Regions from separate parts of the Homo sapiens genome. Here region 1 is linked to region 2. Evidence: promoter capture Hi-C in 16 types of primary human blood cells and fetal thymus (Javierre and others, 2016). All regions are on one chromosome and are shown on one strand. The core of a region is centred on a gene start or on the middle of the fragment in contact, and the rest is flanking DNA. Distances in the headings are between cores, read along the strand shown.

Region 1 (3,288 bases), core at 439-2,938, 1.1 Mb before region 2:
GATGAAAACCAATACGGAAACGCTACAGTTGTCAGAAAGTGGGAGTAGAAGTGTAGATCAGGTGGCATCAGGGATGTGAGGCCTCCACTTGACCCCATTTCTATGCAGCCTTCACCACTATCCTCAAAGTGGCACTCTGAGGGACCTACTTCTTCCTCTGCCCAGGTATCATCACTCAACAGTGACAGTGCTGAACTTTACCTGAGTTCCACTCTCCTGGAAAACTGCGAAGCTTAAAAAAAAAAAAAACACCTTCATCATCGGTGTTTCTGAGAACAACTTACTGCAAAGAGGCTTAAGACTCATAATTTTCTGTCTTGTTTACTTATGACAAGGCCGGACACAGACCCTCCAAATTTCTAACTCTTGGTCTCATCAATGATTAGCTGAACCGGTTGCCATCATAAATCAACAGGTACAAAATGCTGGTTACCTAAACTTCTCCCAAGCTCCTCAGCTGTGGCTCACCCTCAGCCTGAGCTGGTGCACACCAGAAAATAGGCTGGCCTCAGGTAAATCACTGTCTGATCTACCAGCTGATCATGCTACATAGTCATTTAGCTGTTTCCAGCCTTGTTTACTCCGCTTTCTAAAGAAAAACCCATTTCCCCAGCCTTTGAGTCCTGGTAGATTTCATGTCATGGCATTATTCCTATTGCGATAGTTCTCTCCCTGTTTCAAGTCTCTTCCCCACTCCCCTTGCAATACTTTTTTTGGTTAAATCTCTCCTTACTAAGCCTGTATTTTTTTTTTATTTGACCCCATGGGTTGTGATGGGGTTCAGAACACACTTCCCCAAAATATGGCACTGGTAGGATGAATATTTTAAGCTGAAGGAATTTGAGAATGGTCAGGTGCACGAAGGACTCTCTGACTTTCCTGTAACCCCTGAAGCAGGTCATAAGACCCTCCTGGGTGAGGGGTTTCTGAAGGGAATCTGCATGAACACGCTTTGCTAAATTCCCCCAGTTCACTACTCTTAGCTCACACCCCTTTGTCCTACCACACTTTTCTATGACTTTCCACCCTACACCCAACCTAGTATAAAAACACTCAGGTTTGGCCTGGCGCAGTGGCTCACGCCTGTAATCTCAGCACCTTGGGAGACCGAGGTAGGCAGATCACCTAAGGTCAGGAGTTCAAGACCAGCCTGCCCAACATGGCAAAACCCCGTCTCTACTAAAAATACAAAAATTAGCCAAGCATGTTGGTGGGTGCCTATAGTCCCAGCTACTCGGGAGGCAGAGGCAGGAGAATCACTTGAACCCAGGAGGAAGAAGTTGCAGTAAGCCAAGATCACGCCATTGCACTCCAGCCTGGGCGACAAGAGCAAAACTCCGTCTCAGAAAAAAGAAAAAAAAAAAAACAAAAACCCACCCACTCAGGTTTAATCATATCTTCAGGTCTTCATTTCCTTAAAAAGGTTTTCATTTTCTAAGAACTTAATACATTTTTATGCTTTTGTCTTTTTCATCTGTCTTTTGTCAGTTGAATTTACAAGGGCCGCAGCTGGAAAACCTAGGAGTATAGAGGAGAAAAGCTGTTTTTTCCTCCTCTACAACTGTAAAACTCCACTATGAACAAAGCTAAAATGTAATGGAAACAATATGGTTCCTCTGGCTGCTATTTTCCAACACAACTGGGGTTGGGGTGCGGTTAGAAAAGGTGAGGATGCAAGTATAGGGCTAGGTAGGAAAAAGATGAAAACCTCAGCTTGGAAGTCAGGAGCTAGAGGTTAGTTCTGCACATTCCCAGTTTTCTCCCTTTCCATTTATCATGGAAGCCGCCAATGAAACATGTACCAGCTGACCTGGAGATTCCGCCAATCCTTGCTGAGATCCTGGAAGCTCCAGCCAGCCGGCCACAGGACCCAGAACTGGCTCCAGCAATATTTAAAGTGGAACAGATGACAACCACCGGGTGGCGCCAAACACTGCCCGGACAAGGACAGATTTGTGCAACAGTCATGGACCCTTGGTACTGCAGCTTTTAAGCTGACCTGGCTCATACATTGGTTTCATTAGCTACTCAATGATGCTAGACTGCATGTTAATTTTTGGACCTTACTCGTGTTACAGCCTTAGTGAATTGTATTTATTAAGTACCTTCTGAATGGCAATTCAAATAAACATCAAATAATCGTCAGAGAGTTTATATTATCGGGGATTAAGATATGAACCTCTAAAAAGATATGAGAAAAAAGATATGGCAAAATGGTGTATTTTGGGTCCCTTCACTGAAATTTTTTTTTTAACATTTTAAAAAATTCTTATGGGTACATAATAGGTATATATATTTATGGGTTACATGTGATGTTTTGATACAGGCATACAATGTATAATAATCAAATTAGGGTAACTGGGGTATCCATCACCTAAAGTCTTCATTATTTCTTTGTTTTAGGGACATTCTAATTTTACTTTTTCAGTTCTTTTAAAATATACAATAAATTACTGTTGACTATAGTCACCTTGTTTTGCTATCAAATACCAGATCTTATTCATTCTAACTATACCTGACTGAAATTTGTAGCTGAAATTTTTGGAAATGTTGACAGGTAGAAGATGGAAGGGGTGAAATCTATTTAAAAGTGAGAAACAATGCTCTTTGCTCTAGAAGTGGAGACTAACTCTTCTTCGGGAGTTCCTTTCAGGAAAATTATTTGGATGATACTTTTAGTTATGCAAGTGTAATGTAAAAAGACTGCAGGGATGAAGATGTGGGAGAAACTGGCTCAAAGTAGTTAAATTACTGTGAATAACAATATAGAGTTTGCTTTTGTTGCAGCAAAAGTTGCATATTTAGATGAGTAATTTTATTAAAGCAGTATTTCTCAAACTTTTCAACAGATCCTCTCTGAGCGATGAATTTTACAGTTTACATTGTGACCAAGTACACAAACACACACCTGTTTCACAATTTCCCTTATCACACACAGGTCTTGGATAATTTTTATTTATTTTTTTTAATGTCTAAAAAATGCTTACGGTTATTCATTATACTGACTTCAAGAATACCACTGGATTGCAAGCTACCATTTAAAAAATGTATTGGAGAAATGTTTTCATTTCTAGTGCAGATTTAGAGTGCATTTTATTCCCCATCTTTATGGTAACAAAGACTCCCTTCTTGACCAACCCCTAAACAAGCTTCTTTAAGCGCCGCACCCCAACTACTTTTTTTTTTTTTTTTTTTTTTGACTAGGACCTATCTGAGCCTTGCTCTTAAGAGCCTGGTTTTAGCAAGAATCTTGCTAAGTCAGTTGGCCAGAACCTTCATCCTCAATAT
Region 2 (3,093 bases), core at 291-2,790:
GAGGGAGGGAGAAAAGACTTTCCACCCCCAGCCCTCCGAGGGCAGAGCTGGTACCTGGAAGGGGTGGAGAAACAGAAGTCCCCACGGTTCCTAAACTTTCTCAGCCAGTTTTGCAGCAATCCCAAGGCTACTTGACTGAATGACCAGTGAAGGAAAGGGCTTGGTTTTATTTTTTAAATCTTTGTCGAACCTATGAAAATAAACAAAAGCTGCTCCAAGCATTCTCTCGGCCTTTCTGAACTTTCTACGCTTTGGGTTTTTGTTTTTTCCTCCCGTCTCAGAGGTTAAAAACTTCGATAGGGACTCGGAGTCCTCCTAGAGGAGAGGGAAGCTCCCCTGTTATTTAAAGCGCAAGGCTTTGTTTCAGGTATGGGAAAGGCGAAGTTGGATCCCAGGAAGAGCGGCTCCGGGGACCACAGCGAGTCCCTGCGAGGCCAAGGCGCAGAGCTGCCGCTCCCGGGCCAGCCCCGCCGTGCACCTGGGTCGCGAGGGGCGCTGAGCGATACCTGGGACAGACCAGACGCGCTTAGGAATCACGTGCACAGCATGCGAGCAACCTCGGGCCCTCAGTCCCCAGCACCGGGACCCAGCGGCGGGCGGGCGTAGGGTGGCGCGGGTTCTCCTGCAGCTCCGGCCGGGGGATGGAGGGGGCGGCTCGCGCACGTGGGAGGAGGCAGCCTTACCTTGGGGCTTGGAGGCTTCGGTGGCATTGGGCGGCGTCATGGCGATGCAGACGTCCCCCTCGGGGAACTTGTCACACTTAAGCATCTCGGGCCAGTAGAAGCCGAAGAACTGCATGACCGGCTCGCACGAGTCGCGCACGGCCTCGCAGAGCCAGCGACACGGGTAGATGGGCCGGTCCAGGCAGACGGGCGCGAAGAGCGAGCAGAGGAAGACCTGGGTGCCGGCGTGGCAGTTCTTGTTGAGCAGGGGCACCCAGCTGCTGGCCTGCTGCTTCACCTCCGCCATGGTCTCGTGCTCCAGCAGGTTGGGCAGCACCATCTTCTTGTAGCCCACGTTGTGGCACAGCCGCAGGTCCGCGGGGATGTCCACGCACTGAGGTGGCTTGGTGTAGAAGCGCCCGCTCTGGTACGGGCCGATGTCCGACTGGAAGCTCACGTAGTCGTACTCGCTGGCCGAGCCCACGGCCAGAAGCGCCGCGCCCAGCGCCAGCAGCACGCCCAGGGCTGCCCCGCGGCGGCCCCCCTCGCTGCGCCCGATGCCCATGCCGGCTCTGCGCCCTGTTCTCCGCGACGTCGGGGCTGCCTCCGCCGCCTCCCCGCGCGCGTCCTGCCGCAAACTTCCAGGGACCTCCGGGGACAAAAGGCGCAGTCCCCAGCGTTGCCCGGCTCCGCGGCCGCAAGCTGCTGCCCGGTCCCCCCGGCCAGTGGCGGCCCTCGGCCTGCGGTCGGAGGCGGCGCGGGCGGGGAGGCGGCGCTGCGGGCTGGGTGCGCCCCGGCTCCCGGAGGTGCGGCGAGCAGGAAGGCGCGGGGCGGCGGGCGCGCGGCACTGACTCCGGAGGCTGCAGGGCTGGAGTGCGCGGGGCTCCTACGGCCGAGCCCTCGGAGCCGCCCCGCGCAGCCAATCAGCTCCCGGCGGGGCGAGCCGCACTCGTTACCACGTCCGTCACCGGCGCGGGAGCCAATCGCCTCCCTCGCGAGCGGGTTCGGTTTACTAGAACCAGACGCGGCTCAACACCCCTTAAAAAACAAAACCAAAAATACATAAATAAAAGGGGGAGGAGGAAAGAGACAAGGGGAGAAAAAGAAGGGGAATGGATCACGGCGTGGGGTGGAGAGAGACCAGGGCGGACGCTGTAATTAACTCGCATTGGCTTGCAGAGAAGCGGGGAGCCTGGATCATACTTGCAAACCCATGAAATTATGAAGACTTTTTTTTTTTGAGACAGTTTCGCTCTTGTTGCCTAAGCTGGAGTGCAATGGCGCTATCTCCGCTGACTGCAACCTCCGCCTCCCGGGTTCAAGCGATTCTCCTGCCTCAGCCTCCCGAGTAGCTGGGATTACAGCCGCGTGCCACCATGCCCCCGCTAATTTTTTGTATTTTTAGTAGAGACGGGGTTTCACCATGTTAGCCAGGCTGGTCTCGAACTCCTGACCTCAGGTGATGCTCCTGCCTTGGCCTCCCAAACTTTTTTTTTCTTTTTCTTTACACTGCTTCCTAATTTCAACCAACAGCCCTTTAGACTAGCGGCTCCTCTCCTCGGTTCTCTAGCTGCGGTGCAGACAGGTGGTTTCCCAACTAACAGGGGTTCAGGAAGGCTGAAGCGAGGGAGGTCTGCTTGTAAATACCCAGTGGGCCTGGCTGGGCTCCCTGGAAGGCGAGGCGAAGGCGCAGTTGGAGCTGTTTGCTGTGAGCAGCACCTCTCCAGGTGGGGCCGCCCATGGTGGCCCTCAACACTGGGGCAGTGGGTGGACTTTGCCCGGTGTGGCGGCAGGAAGAGCTGCTAGCAACGGTATTAGCTCTGGGAGGACACTTTTTTAAATATATAATATATATTTAAATAGAAAAACCCTACTCAAGTCCTAGCCCGGGCGACAGCACATCTGTGTGTTTGTGGTGTGGAAAGCCAAAACATTAAAAACACATGTGCACTTATCAGCGTGGCTGGTGTAAATACCAAGTCCATCACTCAGGCACACATGCTAAGGTTAGACCCAGTCCAGGAACTTCAAGTTAAAATCAAGGGTCCCCACTAGGGCAGACGCCAAGAGGACGGTATCAGCACAACAGCTCGGCCCCCAGGAACAGAAGTCTCTCTGCCACCTTCTACCTCGAATTCCTGAGAATTCTTCGTAGGTTTCAAACATTCCCCTGAGAGGGAGGGTTAAGCTCTGGAGAGCTGGGAGTGAGACCCGGACTATCCCGGGACAGAAGACCACAGCAAATAGTTCATGAAGTTCCTGGAGTCTCCATATCTTCTGTCCCTAAGTGCGGGTGGAGAGAGGCTGATATATTCATAGCCCAGTCTGAGCGCACACCCCATGTGGCAAAGGGGTCACAGATCTTAGCGCTCCACAGAGACACTATAGGGCGCGCTGCCTTGCCCGCCAGCTTGTTTGTAAAGCTCTAGGG

Evidence for each region. The method cuts DNA at HindIII sites, captures the fragments that hold promoters and counts their contacts. A CHiCAGO score of 5 or more calls a contact.
Region 1: a contact is called between a fragment that was not itself captured here and the fragment with the promoter of SFRP1 in region 2, in 1 of 17 cell types (M2 macrophages). The highest score is 5.7, in M2 macrophages.

The regions. Positions count from the first base shown.
Region 1 is chr8:40,251,349-40,254,636 of GRCh38, forward strand. No RefSeq gene overlaps it. Among named protein-coding and RNA genes, the nearest start is that of SIRLNT, 90 kb to the right of the region's middle. The HindIII fragment of the contact is 2,917 bases long and covers 231-3,147 here.
Region 2 is chr8:41,307,933-41,311,025 of GRCh38, forward strand. It overlaps SFRP1 (secreted frizzled related protein 1), which reads right to left and starts at 1,541. Exons shown (of 3, transcript NM_003012.5): 1 at 684-1,541. The coding sequence starts at 1,227. RefSeq lists enhancers at 1-490, 491-1,261. The HindIII fragment of the contact is 12,075 bases long and covers 1-3,093 here.